Linked DNA regions of Homo sapiens: all the other regions are linked to region 1. Evidence: promoter capture Hi-C in 16 types of primary human blood cells and fetal thymus (Javierre and others, 2016). All regions are on one chromosome and are shown on one strand. Each heading gives the region's core, a stretch centred on a gene start or on the middle of the fragment in contact. The rest is flanking DNA. Distances are from core to core; before and after follow the strand shown.

Evidence for each region. The method cuts DNA at HindIII sites, captures the fragments that hold promoters and counts their contacts. A CHiCAGO score of 5 or more calls a contact.
Region 2: a contact is called between a fragment that was not itself captured here and the fragment with the promoter of MDM2 in region 1, in 1 of 17 cell types (neutrophils). The highest score is 5.7, in neutrophils.
Region 3: a fragment that was not itself captured here is called in contact with the fragment with the promoter of MDM2 in region 1 in 1 of 17 cell types (neutrophils); the score reaches 5.9 in neutrophils.
Region 4: a fragment that was not itself captured here is called in contact with the fragment with the promoter of MDM2 in region 1 in 1 of 17 cell types (megakaryocytes); the score reaches 5.9 in megakaryocytes.

The regions. Positions count from the first base shown.
Region 1 is chr12:68,805,724-68,810,523 of GRCh38, reverse strand. MDM2 (MDM2 proto-oncogene) reads right to left here and starts at 2,347. Exons shown (of 11, transcript NM_002392.6): 1 at 2,033-2,347; 2 at 1,232-1,316. The coding sequence starts at 2,046. RefSeq lists enhancers at 1,370-1,759, 859-2,058 and a silencer at 2,260-2,649. The HindIII fragment of the contact is 7,204 bases long and covers 1-4,800 here.
Region 2 is chr12:69,577,924-69,582,723 of GRCh38, reverse strand. It overlaps FRS2 (fibroblast growth factor receptor substrate 2), which reads right to left. Exons shown (of 9, transcript NM_001278356.2): 9 at 2,931-4,800. Among named protein-coding and RNA genes, the nearest start is that of MIR3913-2, 4.4 kb to the left of the region's middle. The HindIII fragment of the contact is 812 bases long and covers 2,565-3,376 here.
Region 3 is chr12:69,332,872-69,337,671 of GRCh38, reverse strand. No RefSeq gene overlaps it. Among named protein-coding and RNA genes, the nearest start is that of LYZ, 13 kb to the left of the region's middle. RefSeq lists an enhancer at 4,788-4,800. The HindIII fragment of the contact is 4,929 bases long and covers 1-4,180 here.
Region 4 is chr12:68,287,496-68,292,295 of GRCh38, reverse strand. No RefSeq gene overlaps it. Among named protein-coding and RNA genes, the nearest start is that of IL22, 36 kb to the right of the region's middle. RefSeq lists a silencer at 1,785-1,844. The HindIII fragment of the contact is 3,963 bases long and covers 688-4,650 here.

The sequences.
Region 1 (4,800 bases), core at 1,098-3,597:
TGCCACTGCACTCCAGCCTGGGAGACAGAGCAAGACTCCGCCTCAAAAAAAATAATAATAATAATAATTAAAGATTGGTGATATTCAGTATTGGCAGGAGTGAAACTGTTAGAGCCTTTTGGTGAGCAAGTTACCAGTAGCAATCAAATAGTAAAATTGAGAACTCAGGAGTTCTAATTCTCTAAAATCTTTTTCTTTTCTTTTTTTTTTTTTTAGACGGAGTTTCGCTCTTATCGCCCAGGCTGGAGTGAAATGGCGCAATCTTGGCTCACCGCAACCTCTGCCTCCTGGGTTCAAGCGATTCTCCTGCCCCAGCCTCCTCAGCAGGGGATTATAGGCGCGCGCCACCATGCCCGACTAATTTTTGTATTTTTAGTAGAGACAGGTTTTCACCATGTTGGCCAGGCTAGTCTTGAACTCCTCATCTCAGGTGATCGGTCCGCCTTGGCCTCCCAAAGTGATGGGATTACAGGGGTGAGCCACCGAGGCCAGCCTATAATTCTATAAAATCTTTCTTACAGAAATAGTCACACGGGATGCATGTACAAAGCGGCACTATCTGTAATACTCAAAAACAGGAGGCAATTTTTAAAAACCTATCAGTAAAGGCATAAATAATTTTTAAAATGGTATACTCATGCTGTGGAATACTATGCAGCCATTAAAAAGAATTCTGTAGACTTTATTTATTGACAAGGATGCAAGTCACAGAACAACTACAGTTTCATCTTGTTAGTACAACAAACAGGACAATAACATAGATTTAAATTCAAATGTAAATATATGTGGGTACGCACACAAAAAATCTAAAAGGAAACATGGAGCAAAAAGCCTGGAATTTTCAGGTTTTACTTTAAAATTTCTCTAATGACAAAAATCTTTAAAACAAGCACGAATAACTTTTTTGACTTTTAGAAACCATTTTTAAAAATTAAATACTGGGAGGTCAAAAAGGAAAAAAAAATCAGTCACGTAACAAACGTAACTTCAACCACGCTTAACAATGTAATGGAACTAATTTTTAAAGCAAATGTGGCAAATGGCTAAAAAAATACTGACCAGTTCTTAACAGTTTTTAACTCCACGCAGTTACGCCAGAGGTAGCACACTTTAAGCTATGCACATACAATTTTATTTACAGAGCCATGCTACAATTGAGGTATACGAAATTTAGTTTATCACTTCATAAAATAAATTATTCTTAAAAGTTACACGAGACAAAAATACTAACCAGGGTCTCTTGTTCCGAAGCTGGAATCTGTGAGGTGGTTACAGCACCATCAGTAGGTACAGACATGTTGGTATTGCACATTTGCCTACAAGGAAAAAAAAGACACGATGAAAACTGGAAATCATGAAACATCTGTGGAAAATACATCATATATAAAGAACATAAACAACAGTTAAAACTAAAGCTACAAGCAAGTCGGTGCTTACCTGGATCAGCAGAGAAAAAGTGGCGTGCGTCCGTGCCCACAGGTCTACCCTCCAATCGCCACTGAACACAGCTGGGAAAATGCATGGTTTAAATAGCCCCAGCTGGAGACAAGTCAGGACTTAACTCCTTTTACTGCAGTTTCGGAACGTGTCTGAACTTGACCAGCTCAAGAGGAAAAGCTGAGTCAACCTGCCCACTGAACCGGCCCAATCCCGCCCAGACTACGCGCAGCGTTCACACTAGTGACCCGACAGGCACCTGCGATCATCCGGACCTCCCGCGCCGAAGCGGCCCCGCAGCCCCCGGCCCCCGTGACCTTTACCCTGAACTCCCGCGGAGACCTCCGAACCACCCCCACCCCCACCGCCGCGAGAGCCGTCCGAAATCCCGCCCTCCTCCCTGGCGGCGACTGCCTAGCCCCAGTCCAACAAAACCTCCGCAAAGCCACGTGCCCCATGCCCCGCGCCCCGCGCCCCGAGCCCCCAGCCACGAACCGCACAAAGGCTGCGAACGGGCAGAGGCTGGGAACCAGCGATAGAGGGGACACCGTCAGAGCCCAGACCCAAAAGTGACCGCTCGCTGCCGGGCCAGTACCTGCTCCTCACCATCCGGGGTTTTCGCGCTTGGAGTCGGGGGTCCCTCAAGACTCCCCAGTTTCCTTCACGGGGCGCGCGGAAGCACGACGCCCTGGGCCTCGGGGATCATTCCACTCTCCGGGCCAGGGCACTGGGCGCTCGTACGCACTAATCCGGGGAGGGACGGTGCTCCTGGCTGCGAAAGCAGCAGGATCTCGGTCAGAGGGGTCGCGGCCGCCCCTCGGGCTCGGCTTCTTGCTCCATCTTTCCGACACACAGGGCCACACAGGCCCCAGAAGCAGCCAAGCTCGCCGCGGTGCCTCGGTGCGCGCCCCCTACCGCCCGAGGGGAGCGCGCGGGTCGTCGCGGCGCATCCGGGCATTTGTGCGCGCGCACACAACCGGCCCCGCTTCCGCCAATTGGGTCCGGGGCTCGGCCGCACCACCTCCGGGATGATGGAGTGGGGGGTGTCGCCCCGCGGGCGCGGCGGGCTGTGAGGCGGGGTGGGGGTGTTGGCCGCGAGCTGAGAGGGTGGGGCTCGGCCTGGCGCGGAGCCAGCAAGGTTTGGCGCTGTGACACTCCTTTAGCCGTTGCGCTATGTTTGTATTTCTTGTGTTTACACTTCCCGCCCGCGGTGGAAACTGCGACAAATGCGGATCTCCGTGTCGCTGTTACCAAAAAGAAACCAAAATTAACAGCTGTTTAATATATTAAGCCCACTCCACCAGCCGCTGGAGTTGTACCCAAATGAGTTATTTTAAGGCCTGTTTTTAAAAAAGATTAAAAATAGCACTTAAGGCAGGCTTATACACCGGTGCATACAGCTGTTCTGGTTGGAGAACGAAGATGCTGGTTACCGTTGGCGGGGAGGGGAGCGGTTACTCTGCGCTTTTAGAATGTTTGGGTTTGGCTGGGCGCGGTGGCTCACGCTTGTAATCCCATCACTTTGGGTAGGCCGAGGCGGGTGGATCACTTGAGGTCAGGAGTTCAAGACCAACCTGGCCAACATGGGAAACGCCGTCTCTACTAAAAACTACAAAAATTAGTCGGGCGTGGTGGCGGTCACCTGTAATCCCAGCTACTCTACTCCGGAGGCTGAGGCAGGACAATCCTGTGAACCCGGGAGGCAGAGGCTGCAGTGAGCCAAGATCATGCCATTGCACTCCAGCCTGGGCGACAGGGCAAGACTCTCAAAAAAACAAAAACAAAGTTTGGGTTTGTTAATCTACACATTCATTATCATTAAAATATATACTTATATATTATGCACTCATTCTGACTCACCTACTTTCCCACAGAGATGTGGCAAAAACGTTTTTGATGCGGTCTCATAAATTGAGGACATAAAGAATTGAGTTAGCTAAACCCAAAAACACAGCCATTGCAAAGAAGGAACACGTTTCTTCTCTGGCCAGTAAGTGATTAGCTCCTTGTGAACAAGGACCTTTTTTTATAAAGTTATATCCTTCCCTTCTGCAGCTTTTTTTTTTTTATAAAGTTATATCCTTCCCTTCTCCCGCTTCCCAGCCTACCAGAAAGGAAACTTCCTTAAACATAGTGGTCACTCAGTTGATTTAAGTTGATTGCCAATATTATTAACTTAAGAGATTTAATATGTGGCTTTTAAAAAGATAATCTCATCTTCATCAGATCATATACAGTGGGGTTTCTAATAGACTCAGTGCTTGACCCTGGATGAAAGAAAATCTCAAGCAGTGAGAAAATGTAAGCATGAAAAGATAAGTGATAGGCTGCGCACGGTGGCTCACGCTTGTAATCCCAGCACTTTGGGAGGCTGAGGTGGGTGGATCACGAGGTTAGGAGTTCGAGACCAGCCTGGCCAAGATGGTGAAACCTTGTCTCTACTAAAAATACAAAAATTAGCCGGGCCCCGTGGCGGGCGCCTGTAATCCTAGCCACTTGGGAGGCTGAGGCAGAAGAATCGCTTGATCTCGGGAGGCAGAGGTTGCAGTGAGCGGAGATCGCGCCACTGCAGTCCAGCCTGGGTGACAGAGCAAGACTCCATCTCAGAAGAAAAAAAAAAAAAAAGAGATAAGTGATAGAGGTTGATATTTGTTAAATATCAAGTGAACGAATGGGTTTGTGCTATAAAAGTTCAGAGACAGAATTAATTGCTTAGTAAATGCTGGAGGCAGTTCACAAAGGCCTCAGAGATCACACATATTTTGTGTCTTGAAAGATGGTGAGACTTAAATAAAAGCAGAGAATATTCCAGGCACAAGAAAATTATCAAAAAATACAGAAAGGAAAATATAAGAGGACTGTTTGAGATACAATAAATAAATCCGTTTGACTTGCATGAAAGTCAAGAAGAAGTTTTAAGAACTTGGAGTCTCCTTAAATGCCAAGCAAGGAAATTTGGGCTTTCGACAGAGTAGACATTAGAAGCATAAAAACAAGTGATTTGCTTCAAACTGTATTTTAACAGGACCACCAAGAGTAGATTCAAACTCAGAATAGTCGGGCCGGCTGCCTTCTGGACCGACTTTCCCCCTTCTCATTGGCCTTGTGCTTTGAAAAAATTATCTTGACAAAATTATTAGAGCAGAAAAAAAAAGGCAGAACTGATAAGATTAGTCCTTTTCTAATGGAACCAGAAAAGAAGGGTCAGAAATGAAGGCAGAAGGGAGAAGCGGGGGTGGGGGAGAGAGAGAGAAGTAAAAAGGATTCACTCAAGAACCTGGTATTCAAAACTACGTGTACCAGCACTACCACAGCAGTATGACTCAGTGTCCACCTAAAGCATGATGATACTGCTTACCAAAA
Region 2 (4,800 bases), core at 1,721-4,220, 770 kb before region 1:
GCAGGAGTGCAGTGGTGTGATCTCCACTCACTGCAACCTCTGCCTCCTGACTTCAAGCGATCCTCCGACCTGTCTCCCGAGTAGCTGGAAATACAGGCATGCGCCACCACACCAGCTAATTTTTTGTATTTTTGGTGGAGACGGGATTTTGCCATGTTTCTCAGGCTGGTCTTGAACTCCTGAATTCATGCGATCTGCCCACCTTGGCCTCCCAAAGTGCTGGAATTACAGGCAGAAGCCACTGTGCCCATCTATTTATACATTTTATCGTAATTTGTATTAGATAGGTTACAGGGCCTATGGAGATAGTGAGACCTTGGGAATCCATGTTTCTGTGATTAAACACGTTGTGTGACTTTCTCCTGGCTCATCTTCTGTCCTCTACTCTCAAGTCCCTTGGTCTTGGCTTCTCTTAGTTAACCCTTCCTCCTCCCTCAAAGTCTTTGTGACCCTCTCCTCTCTATGACCCTGTGTCCTCCTCTCTCTTCCCCTTGGTATAATTTGGCTTTCAGTGAATTGGCTTTTTGTTAACTGGTCAGCTTCCAGTTATATAATCTCTCTGTGCCTCAATTTCCCTTTGTGTAAAATGGAGATAATTATCACAGATTAAATAGCTTAGAACAGTGCCTGTTTAGCTTAGCTATTGTTATCATTATATCCCAAGTCTTCTAATAGGCTTTATAAATATAGTAGCCGAGGTTGGATATGCTTGGCATGTTATGGAAGTAGGAAAGCACTGTAGCATATCATTATTTGATGGCTAGAGGTGATTTGGGAGCAAGGGTAGATTCATTAACTGGAGTGAAATAACTGGCGAAGTGGCAAACAACCACCAGAACAGAGTTATGGGACTTGTCAACATTCCTCAGGAACAGTTAGAATACCTGGGGAAGGAAACCAAATAAAGGACCAGGAGTCCACAGTCACATTAAGTTGGGTCCACCCAGACACCTACTGTTTGGGTAGTAGGGAGAAGGTTAGAAGACTTGATATTTCTCCTGTTGCAGACCGTGATAGTTTGTACACAGGAATCAGTCTGTGGAGCACACTTAGAGGAGCACTTTAAAAAAAAAAAAAACAGGGTCTCATTATGTTGCCCAGGCTGGACCACAGTGGCAGGATCACAGTTCATTGCAGCCTCAACCTCCCAGGCTTAATCTATCCTCCTGCCTCAGTCTCTTGAGTAGCTGGGACTACAAGCACACACCACCACGCCAGTTGATTTTTGTATTTTTTCATAGAAACAGGTTTTCACCATGTTGCCCAGGCTGGTCTCAAACTTCTGGGCTGAAGTGATCCACCCTCCACAGCCTCCCAAAGTGCTGGGATTACGGGCATGAGCCACCATGCCCAGCCCCCAAATATATCTTAAATCTCAATGAACTGACACCATCAACCATCTCAGTCACCCAAACCAGATAACTGGGGGTCATCCTTGACCCCTCCATTTCTGTCATTCCCCTTATCAATCAGAGGTGTTAATTCTTCCTCCTTTAGGCCCTCTATTACATTGGTGGCCCTGAATAAACTACACTTTTGATGTTCATGCTTTTATATGAGCCACTGTAATTCAACAAAATACAACAGAATTGACATTGTGCCAGTTCTGGGCTTAGGCCTCAAGAAAGCCTAGCAGCATCTACTTTTGTGCTCTTGGGAACCCTAAGCTGCCATGTAAGAAGACCACATGAAGAAAGACCCAAGACTTCATGGAAGAAAACTAAGGAACACAGCTGAGAGCTTTAAGTTCCAGACATAACCTAGTGGAACTGGTCCAGCCAGCCCTCAGCTGCTTGAATCATACTAGCATAGGCACAAAGCATATGAGGAAGCCAGGCCTCCAGACATCATGTGAGATGAGCCATCTCTGCTGTGCCCTGCCCATCTCGATCTATAGCAACTTGAGACATTAAATGATTGCTGCTTTAAGCCACTAACTTTTAGGGTGGTTTGTTGCACAGCAGTAAACAATCTAAACAGTCCTTTAACAATGCCTTTGAATACGGATTTATCAGATCTGGCTCCATTTCTGAAAAAGCCTCTCAACCAGTCTCCCTGCTTTATTAAAATACCGTAGGGCCAGCTACTTGGGAGGCAGAGCCAGGAGAATGGCATGAACCTGGGAGGGGGAGCTTGCAGTGAGCCGAGATGGCGCCACTGCACTCCATCCAGCCTGGGCAACAGGGAGAGACTCCGTCTCAAAAAAAAAAAAAAAAAAAAAAAAAAAAATACTGCGCCCTTCACGTATCCATGTTGTCAGAGAAATCTTTCTAAACTATTATTTTTCTGGTGTTTAAAATCCTTCAAGTTCTCTCACCTAATTTAAACAAAAGCTCCTTAGGATTCTGTGATCTGTTTCTCATTTCTCCTTTCTTCTGTATCCCCCAACCCTGCCTTTGCTCTCCATGCGCTTAGTCATTTGGAACCTCTTGCAACCACTGAATGTCATGATCTTTCTATACCTCTGTGCCTTTGCACATGCTATCCCTTCTCCCTAAGACATCCTCTCTAAGCTACAAAGACTTTCAACAAACCACCTCAGGGATCACCCCCTCTAAGAAGCTTTGCTTGAAAACCTCCACCCCTAGGCTGAGTTGGATGCCCTTCCTTTGTGTGTGTCTTTATCATGCCAGTTACATCAATCACTTGTGGACATGTCCATCTCCTTCATTGTTTAAATAATTTCCATCTTGACCTGTACTCAACTAAGGCTTTGCAATGTCACTCAGTGGCTAAAAACAGGTTTGAAGTCCCAGAGCTGAGAACTACTATTTGGAATGATCACACAGCTAAAACTGTGAGAAAGCCTGTCATATAGTTACAATTTCATTTTGATATCTTCATTTTGAAAATGGAGGCAGTGATATGAGACTAGGAAAGAAAATGTCACAAAGTTTCAAGTAGTATGTGAAATATAAATACAATAAAACTTTTAAGTAGATATCCGACCAAACGTTTTATTGGGGTTTTATTGCAATCTACTTTCAGCAATAAGGGGAAAGTGAGCATGAAAAGAACTCCAATCAGACTTTATTCAATAAAGCAGCTTTTCATGAATGCTTCAGGTCAGTGTATGATCAGCTCAGCTTCCAGTATCAACTTGAGTACCTCATTATGGATATTTATGCTAGAATGACAACAGTAAGGCATTGCAAAATCCAAAGTCATCTAATATTAAACCATATTTTACATAATTTGTAGGACAGTATACTAATACTCTACAATAAATAAGGATTTAAAAATGTGTTGCTTAGCCCTTGAACTAAATTCAATTACTAGCTTATTCTAAGTACTCCAGTTAATAAACGTTTGATTGTAAAGAACTCTGACTTCTCCAAAGATAAAAAAAATTAGTTGTCATGACAAAAATTAAGCTTAAAAAGCACATTCACACTTGTCCTTAAAAGCAAGTTTACATCATATATGAGAAAACTTTTCATGCCTGATGACATGGCTTATATGGCAAAAAACAGTCATATGCAAAGGACAACTAGAGGGCAATCGTCCCATCCCCACTTCCTCCAAAAAGCCACACTCGGCCTCAGTGTAAAAGTTATATTTTATTGCCATGCTACAAAATGTATGAAGTTGGCACTGATAGGGAGAAATAGAGAACAAAGGGTGGGAAGGGATAGAGGGAAAATTATGTTGTTACATATACAACAAGGTTTTATTTTAATTAACAGTGGTTACGTTTTGCCAATATTAAAAATGCAAACCAAAATTTAAAATGCTGATCTGAAACAGCATTAAGATACAATGTATGCATAGTACAGTATCACTTATGTCTTTTTATTAGAGAAATATGGAATGTTTATAAAAGAAATTAACCATGGGGGTAAAATTCATATTTCATATACAATTTGGCAATGGTAGTCCCACTGTTGGACAATTTTTTATAAAAGAAAAAATTAAAAATCTAATAAGCTACCTTTATACAAAGTTGCTATATTTATGCCTTTACGTAGGAAAAAAACATTTATAATGCAAATTAGGACATACAATAGTCTTACAATATTATACAATGTAATGAAAATAAAACATAACACAAAGTTTGTCCTTTATAAAATGTATATTTTGCATTACTAATGCAAATGTGGCACACTGGTGACTACTGTACTACTTATACCAGTCTGTTTCCATGCTATAACTGTCCAATTGCCATAGAACTGCAATTATAATGATGCTACAAAAGAACTGTGTTATACCAAAAATGAGGAAGTAGGGATGGGGAACAGGGATGTAAAGAACAGGAAAGATAGATAGGGTGCTGGTTTGGGCAGAGTATACTGTGGTACGTCATAAAATATGTTAATTTTTCAAGCCAAAAACATTTTCTTTACATTCTGTAATTTCGTACCAATGCCTTTATTCAAATTTGGCAAACATCAAGGAAAAGGTAATTAGTACCATATACCTCACACATCAGAAATATGAATGAGATGCCAATACATCAGTTACTTGTGAATGATGTCTCTGATGGTATGTCTATTTCAAGAATATATGTATTTATACACACACACTACACATTGCACAAAACATTTGGGCATTATAGGTTAGGAATAGCACGGGGGAATTGGGAAGTACTTTTTCATCTGTTAAAACCTTTACCTTGAGGCAAAAATATGGCGGCACATTGTTGGGAAATTATGAAAACATAAGGCCCCTGTCCCATTTTTAATAGAACATTATTGAGGTACATTTTTATATGCTGTGCCACAGTTTTGGGGAGGGGGAGGAGATAAACACTAGCTTGACTTGTTCTATTTATAACATTGAACGCTGGAGAGGGTCAACATT
Region 3 (4,800 bases), core at 467-2,966, 530 kb before region 1:
GTGAGGTGGCTGTTTGCCAGCATGGAAATACTCTATTTCCAACTCCAGTACACAATACCTCTGTGAGGTAGCTGGTTGCCAGCATGGAAATACTCTATTTCCACCTCAGTCAAGTAGAAACTGAACCCACAAATGTAGTGCCATTTACACCCAGGCCTTGCAATCAAGTCAGCCTGACCCAAAGAGGATAAGGGCTGGTATCAGTGTCTCACACATCTATTTTGTGTGGGTTTTTTTAGTTCCAGAAACACTGTGTTGAGATCACACATTTATTTTAGAAAATAATTTCCTTGACTGCTGTTTCAAACTGACATGTAATTGAAGACTAACAGTAAATTAGAAATGTTATTTTAAAAATAGGATGCTAAACCCTAATCTGCTACTACTTGACTACTAATTTTTGTGAAAACAAAGGGAGTAAAATAAACCTAAACACATAAAAACTACACTTAGAATTATCATATCTATGTAAGGAATTCAATCACACTGCAAGTTAAATCTCCTCTGTGGAGTGTAGCATCTATTTTAGACCTGAATTTCATGTATGGACTTCATGATAACTTCATGTTAGTACATGGCTTTCTTACTAATCCCCTTAACTCCAGGTTTTCTCTCTTCTGACCCACTCCACACCCAGAACGTGCCATTCTTGAACTCAGAGGACTTAGTGTTAAAAACACACATATGTCATTACATATCATCTATGACTTCATTTTCTATTATTGTTTGCTGTTGTATTGTCTTTATAACTGCTATCATGAGCTTTTCGAGGGCTTATGCTCCTTTAAACCTTTGCTTCTGCCTTCCCAGTAAGAAACCTTCACTTGTACAATGTAACCACTCAACAAATTTGGTAAAGTCACTGTATAAAAAATACATCCCACCTACAATTAAATTGTTGCTCTTCTCTTCTGAACATGTGTTTTAAAACAGGATTCTGACGTTACATATGATGCAATGAAGTAACACAAAGTTCTAAATAAAAGCCAACCACAAACTACAGAGGAATGTGTTTTTTTAATTATTAGAAAATAATTACAAAATATAGCTTAGAGTTAAAAAAAGAGAGAGAATAGTTTTTATTTATTTATTTAATTTTTTTTTTTTTGAGATGGAGTCTCGCTCTGTCACCCAGGCTGGAATACAGTGGCACAATCTCAGCTCACTGCAACTTCCGCCTCCTGGATTCAAGCAATTCTCCTGCCTCAACTTCCCTGAGTAGCTGGGATTACAGGCGCCCACCACCATGCCCAGCTAATTTTTGTATTTTTTAGTAGGGACAGGTTTCACCAGGCCAGGATGGTCTCAAACTCCTGACCTCAAGTGATCCGCCCACCTCAGCCTCCCAAAGTGCTGGGATTATAGGTATGATCCACCATGTGAGCTACTGTGCCTGGCCGAGAGAATAATTTTTAAAAATACACAGTTAACTTAGCCCTCTGGAATACATTAGAAATAAGACCATATGTTTGAGGCACAGGATTTCTCATACCAATCTGGGTAGAAACTATTTGAAGGTATGATTCAATACTTCATTTAAAGTTAATAGGGGATTGGGTGCCATGGCTCACACCTGTAATCCCAGCTCTTTGGGAGGCCGAGGTGGGCAAATCGTGTAAGCCCAGGAGTTCGAGACCAGCCTGGGCAACATGGCAAAACCCCATCTCTACAAAAAATACAAATAATTAGCCGGGCGTGGTAGCATGCGCCTTAGTCCCAGCTACTCGGGAGGCTGAGGCAAGAGGATTGCTTGAGCCCAGGAGGAACAGAGGTTGCAATGAGCTGAGATTGTACCACTGCACTCCAGCCAGGGTGACACAGAGAGACCCTGTCTCAAAAAAAAAAAAAAAAATTTAATATGGACAAAAAAATTCCACTTTCATTGCTAAGAACACTATAATTTTATTATAGAATAAGGTCCTGTATAACATTTGGTTACAAAGTTTAAGAATTTATCTATTCATTAGTTCAATATAATAAAAGTTTTTTTTTAATCGAGACAGACAGGGTCTTATTGCCCAGACTGAAGTACAGTGGCGTGATCATAGTTCACTGCAGTCTCAACCTCCTGGGCTCAAGGGATCCTCCTGCCTCAACCTCCTGAGTAGCTGGGACTACAGGTGCACCACCAGCACACCCAGCTGATTTCTCATTTTTTGTAGAGATAGGGTCTCACTACGTTGCCCAGACTGGTCTCAAACTCCTGGGCTCAAGCAATCCTCCCATCTCAGTGTCCCAAAGTGCTGGGATTACAGGTGTGAGCCACTGCGCCCAGCCAAGAATAAAAATTGACTGAATATTTTTCTATGTAAGAGGCACTGTATTGATGCTGAGGATACCAAGGTGAAAAAACATGGTTGTTTTCTTCTACAGAACATGCAAACCAACAATTATAATCCAATGTAATAGTTTTAATGGTGATAGCTACAAAGTGATGATGGAGCATGGAGGGAACCTGAAGTCTGTCTGGAAGAGATGGTGAACGCTTCATAGAATTTCAGCTGAATGAGAATTGGGGGAAGAATAGAATTTTGTTTAGTGGACAAGTGGGGTAGAAGACTTGTGGTAGAAACTTCCAATACTCACCCATATCTAGTTCCCTCTCCTTCCAGGCACAGAGGAGGATTATACTTCCCTGTCCCCTTGTAGAGTTAGGCGGAGTGATGTAGCTAAGTCTAGGCAATGAGCTATGGGTAGAAATGTCATTTCTAAGCTGAAACATTTAACTGCTGGTGCAAAACACTCCAGTGCTCTTACTTTTCCTTGGCAACTGATGAAGTTGTATGTTTCAGAAAGTGTAGCTAGCTACCTGATGGTGGAACCTCCGGCAGCCTGAGCGTCTGAGTGACTATGTGGAGCAGAGCCACTTGCTAAACTGTGATAGGCATTTTGGAATGAATAAGGAATAAAATGCGTGTTAAGCCACTGACATTTTGAAATTGTGTTATTTCAGCATTCCAGGTAGAGGTAAACATATTTAAAAATAAAAGAAAGGAAGAATAGACAAATCTTCCATGCAGGAGAATTTCAAGTACTTTATGTAGATACTCTGCCCTCAAGGAAGTATTGAGGCTGTGCATAGTGACTTCCTTCCAAAGAATACAGTATGGAAACGAGGGAAAAGAATAATTTCACAGGAGAGAAACCTGACAAATTCTACTTCAGTCAGTAGATCAATGTTAACATCAACAGTGATAAGCCACATTGATAAGTATGCATCCTTGATATGATGTGATGAAAATGGTATTTGCCTCTGTGGTCTTTCTCTCCAAAACATATAACCCCAGTCTCACCATAAGAAAAACATCAGACAAACCTCAAATGAAGATTATTCTACAAAATACCTGATGAGTACTCAAAACTGCCAAGCTCATCAAAACAAGGAAATTCTGAGAAACTGTCACAGCCAAGAGAAGCCAGAAGAGATACAACAACAAAATGTTATATGCCACCCTGGATAGGATCCTGTAACAGAAAAGGGGCATTAGGTAAAAACTAAAAAATCTGAATAGAGTATGAACTTTAGCTAATAATAACATATCAATATTGGTTCATTAATTGTAACAAAGGTACCTTATTGATGTAAGATGTTAGTAATAAGGGAAAGTGGGTGTGGGGAATACAGAAATGAACTGTCTTATCTTCAGGATTTTTTTGTAAATCTCAAACTATGCTGAAATTAAAAGTTTATTTAAAAATAAACACTGCCTCGGCAACATAGTGAGATTCTGTCTCTTAAAAAAAAAATTGGCCAGGCATGATGTTACATGCCTGTAGTCCTAGCTACTCTGGAAGCTGAGGTAGGAGGATCACCTGAGCTCACGAGGTAGCGCCATCATTGTGCCACTGCACTCACTCCAGCCTGGGTTGCAGAAGGAATCTCTGTCTCAAAAAAAAATAAAAATAAAAAATAAAATAAAAAAAGAAAAGAAAGGAAAAAAGGTATAAGAAAGAATATGGTATGCTGTGGAAGTTCCTTTCAAAGTAGAAAGTGGAAGTGAAGAGCTTGGCTGGGTAAATGAAGAATCTTTTATGCTATTAAAAGGAAATTCCATTTTTATTGTATAGGTTAGGTGAAGGATCCCTAGAAGATCTATGGATAGGCTTCAGAGGTGTTGCTAAACCTCCAAAATTATATAAAATTATATTGCATATTTTTCTCAGAAGAAAGTAAAAAGCTTTATTATTTATTCTCAAAAGTATAAGTACCTAAAATAGGTTAATAATCACTGCTGAAGGCAATGTAAAAACTGAAGTCTTCCGAGTAAAAGGAATGACACAATTGTATTTTTTTGTGTGCCAAAAAGGACCATAGATCACTTTTTGCTAGGACAGACTAAAGTGATTTGGTGTGTGTGGGGGTGTGTGCGTGTTTGGAGAAGGAAGGCCAAAATGAAAGGCAAGATGATAATAAAGACAGTGATCTTCAAACTTTTGAACGTGGTACATTTTGCAAGGGGAGAAAACTGTTGGGATTCACTCAGGATGGTGGCAGAAAGAATAAAGGGAAATATTAGGGAAAGTTATAGGAAATAGTCACAAACCTTTTAGAAGGCCGAAAGTTTACATAGCTTGTAATAATTGAACAGGCCAAGGCGGCCAGTTCTTACCTTAGAGCATTAGGTCATAGGGTAAATACAAGGGACAACAGAGGCTTCCCCAGTTAAGTCTGTTTACCCAACTTCAATTAACTAACCTTTGAGCCAGATGGCCTTCTCTGGGGAGGTCTACCAAGGATATTGCCCCCTAATGGTATTTGTTACACGCGTCCCTGTGAAGAGACCACCAAACAGGCTTTGT
Region 4 (4,800 bases), core at 1,420-3,919, 520 kb after region 1:
TTTGCCTTCTTGGAAGATAAATGACTACCTTTTCTAGTCGGGAAAAAGAATATGTGAGCATTGAATTATTGTACAAATGGATTCAACCAGAATGAAAGCAAATTAATATTCAAAACAAGCTTGTCCTTAAGTAGAGAAGTGTTGAAGTTGGCTACTTAGGGAGCTCAAGGATGGATTATATATTTTTGTTTTAATTGTGCATGCACATATCAGACATCCAGAAAATATCCTGACTTCTGGAAGTTTACCAAAGGAACAAATAATGTAAAATGGTAGATGATCCCAGAATTATTTCTATTTGGTTTTGGAATATGTTTTTGGTACTTTTACATCTGAAAGTGGTAGTCATGTTAGTGTGCTCAGGGCCCAGTCTGTCAAACCACCATTACTCAGTTTCCCAAGGTGATTCTGCTGATAGAGATTACTCCAGGCCAAACAACAGTCTATGTCATTGGACTAGCTAGGGTTGTGCACCAATGGGTCTGGTCACATGGGGTCTCTGAGAAGCCAACTTGCCCCATGAGCTTGACTCATGGACTAAAAGCAGGCTACTGATCTCTTCAGCTCCGTGCTGATGAACTTTCTTGCTAATGTTGACTCTGCAATCTAACCATACGTGTCTTTCTCCCATGGCAAGTGGAGGCACAGAAAGACCCAGCCCTTTGCTCTCAGGCTTAGAGCCAAGCTTCTTTAAATCATATGTCATGTTTCATTCCCACCCTGAGGCTCTTATACAGGAGGCAGCTCCCCATCCTGTGACTCCTGCCATGTGGCAGGTAAGAGCAAAGGATGAGTCATCTTAAAGATGGCATCCATTTCTCTTCTACGAAGTGCTCTACCCACTAGTCTCCATCCGTAGTTTCATTCTGCCCTATATCCATATAAAGCATATCTGGAAATTGAGAAATGAGGACTTGGGGGACACTAAGCCACCTTTGGAAATCAGAACATGAGGCCAACAGGTAGAGTAATGTTTGGGGAGTTTACACCAATTCAGACCACATAATGGACAATTTAGATAATGCTGGGAAATTGTTCAGTTTCTCCCCTATACAGTCTACATGCCAGTATTATGCTGGAGCTAACTCATGGGCCAATCATTAAATAAGAATGTTGTGAGCAAGTTGTTAAAGTTATCAGTAGTTAGAAATTGGCCATGGTGGGAGTATTTACACCACTGAAATCAACAGATGCCATAAATTAGGGCTTCTCCCATTTACTGGGAGGCGGTTTACAAGCCCATCACTAGCTACTGCCTCAGTCTCTCCTAAACTTTCCATATCACTTGCCTGACAGAGAAAACAATCTACTTCAGAAAGCCAGCTCAAGATAAGCTGCTTTAATATTTATTATACCACTTACATATTCCTTGGCTTATACAAATGGTTTGGTTTAGTTTATTTTCTTGGCTGAAGTCCACCTAGAAAATAAAAACAAGCCACAAATAACAATAGACTTACAGAGGGAGACTATGCAGAGACGGCCTAGGAATCTATATGTGTAATCTTCCAGATTCTCATAGGTAGTTTGGGAACAACTGGCTTTGGGGTTATAGTAGCCTATGTTCTAGTCCTAACTCCACCTTGAGCAAGCCAATTGAACTTTGAGCTTGTATTCCTCATCTTGCAGATTAAGATCACTCACCAATTTAGTTTTCAGATTAAATGGCATAAGGTCTGTGAAGTTTTCATATATGCTATTTAAATGTTATTCACTTCAAAATGTTTAGTTTTATTATGTCGGCAAATTTTCATTAAAACAACAAGAAAAAAAGCCTTGTTTTAGAGAGGCTAAGGTTAAATCTAATAAGCAGGTGACAGGGTACCCTGAAATCGTGGCCTCTCATCACAGACCTATCAGTTGTGACCTACATTCAGCTTACCCAGAGGCAGTTTCAGGTAGGGGTGCTGAAATGATTTGTCTATTTCCGTTATGTGGTAAAGCGAAAAAAGACTGACTACAGTGTTGTGACTCAGCTACTCTAGAAGGTGGAACTAATTACCTGATAAATGCAAACTATATTAGCGTAACCATGAATTGGAGATGTTATCAGCTTTGAGTCAGGAAATGCAGAGATAAAGTACCCACGATAATTACTGATGAAAGGAAAGATAGTCAAGGTTGGTCCCTGAATGAATGCGTGCCCAATATCAAAGATTTCCTATGTTTGCTGCAAGTTTTTTTTGAATAAGGTGAATTAAATTAAACTCAGTTTTGTAATTTTAAGAAGAAAATATAAACTAACCCAAATGCCACACATTATGGGAAGATGCAGGCACTTTACACTCATAACTTCAATGATAGTCAGAGTTTGGGCATCTCAGGAAAAATTTGCCCACAGTGAGTACCTTAGCATTCAATGTTCCTGTCAAAAAACTATTCAGGTCAAAACAGTTAAGGTTCTGGGGAAACCAAAAGAAAATCGAAAATAGGTTGTATGGCAATACTAAATTTTGGTTCCACAAGGAACGAGTAATATGAAGTTTAACTTGTAATTTTGCAAAGATGAAACATCCGAAGTGCTTTACTAATTTGAAAACATATACCTGGCACTAACAAATACCCTAGCATGATCATTTAAATCAATTACCGGCCAGGTGCGGTGGCTCACGCCTGTAATTCCCAGCACTTTGGGAGGCCTAGGTGGGTGGATCACGAGATCAGGAGTTCGAGACCAGCCTGGCCAACATGGTGAAACCCCCATCTCTACTACAAATACAAAAATTAGCTGGGTGTGGTGGCGGGTGCCTGTAATCCCAGCTACTCGGGAGGCTGAGACAGGAAAGTTGTTTGAACCCGGGAGGCAGAGGTTGCAGTGAGCTGAGATAGCACCATTGCACTCCAGCCTGGGCGACAGGGCAAGACTCCATCTCAAAAATAAATAAGTAAGTAAATAAATAAATAAATAAATTACTATGAATCGTTGCTGCCAAGACTTTTTGTTTATTTTTTATTTTTAATTTTTTTATTATACTTTAAGTTCTAGGCTACATGTGCACAATGTGCAGGTTTGTTACATGTGTATATTTGTGCCATGTTGGTGTCCTGCACCCATTAACTCGTCATTTACATTAGGTATATCTCCTAATGCTATCCCTCCCCGCTCCCCCCACCCCACAACAGGCCCTGGTGTGTGATGTTCCCCTTCCTGTGTCCAAGTGTTCTCATTGTTCAATTCCCACCTATGAGTAAGAACGTGTGGTGTTTGGTTTTTTGTCCTTGTGATAGTTTGCTGAGAATGATGGTTTCCAGCTTCATCCATGTCCCTACAAAGGACATGAACTCATCCTTTTTTATGGCTACATAGTATTCCATGGTGTATATGTGCCACATTTTCTTAATCCAGTCTATCATTGTTGGACAGTTGGGTTGGTTCCAAGTCTTTGCTATTGTGAATAGTGCCGCTATAAACATACATGTGCATGTGTCTTTATAGCAGCATGATTTATAATCCTTTGGGTATATACACAGTAATGGGATGGCTGGGTCAAATGGTATTTCTAGTTCTAGATCCTTGAGGAATCACCACACTGTCTTCCACAATGGTTGAACTAGTTTACAGTCCCACCAACAGTGTAAAAGTGTTCCTATTTCTCCACATCCTCTCCAGCACCTGTTATTTCCTGACTTTTTAATGATTGTCGTTCTAACTGGTGTGAGATGGTATCTCACTGTGGTTTTGATTTGCATTTCTTTGATGGCCAGTGATGATGAGCATTTTTTCATGTGTCTGTTGGCTGCATAAATGTCTTCTTTTGAGAAGTGTCTGTTCATATCCTTCGCCCACTTTTTGTTGGGGTTTTTTTCTTCTTGTAAATTTGTTTGAGTTCATTGTAGATTCTGGATATTAGCCCTTTGTCAGATGAGTAGATTGCAAAAATTTTCTCCCATTCTGTAGGTTGCCTGTTCACTCTGATGGTAGTTTCTTTTGCTGTGCAGAAGCTCTTTAGTTTAATTAGATCCCATTTGTCAATTCTGGCTTTTGTTGCCATTGCTTTTGGTGTTTTAGACATGAAGTCCTTGCCTATGCCTATGTCCTGAATGGTAATGCCTAGGTTTTCTTGTAGGGTTTTTATGGTTTTGGGTCCAACATTTAAGTCTTTAGTCCATCTTGAATTAATTTTCATATAATGTATAAAGAAGGGATCCCGTTTCAGCTTTCTACATATGGCTAGCCAGTTTTCCCAGCACCATTTATTAAACAGGGAATCCTTTCCCTATTTCTTGTTTTTGTCATGTTTGTCAAAGATCAGATGGTTGTAGATGTGTGGTATTATTTCTGAGGGCTCTGTTCTGTTCCATTGGTCTATATCTCTGTTTTGGTACCAGTAACATGCTGTTTTGGTTACTGTAGACTTGTAGTATAGTTTGAAGTCAGGTAGTGTGATGCCTCCAGCTTTGTTCTTTTGCTGCCAAGACTTTAAAAATATTATGGATCAATACACTAACAACATGTCAGTTTCTTTTATCAGTCAGAATCAAAATGTGGGGACCCAAAAAATTTTATTCAGATTTATTTTAATAATTTGAAGACATATAAAAATACAGAATAGTAGAGACATACATCAACATATACAGCTCTTCAGTCACTACTTAAATAATAATAAAAATAAAACTCAGAAACAGTGAATATTTTGTATTAGAGAAGCTTCTAGAAAAATATCTGATGACCCTCCTTATTATACAGATTTAGTGGTTATTTTCATTCACTAATTAAAACTGTCTGCAACAATTCCAGACATTTTCTGCTGTGTACAACACATTAATCTTAGTATATAAGTAGAAATCTGTTTAATCTTA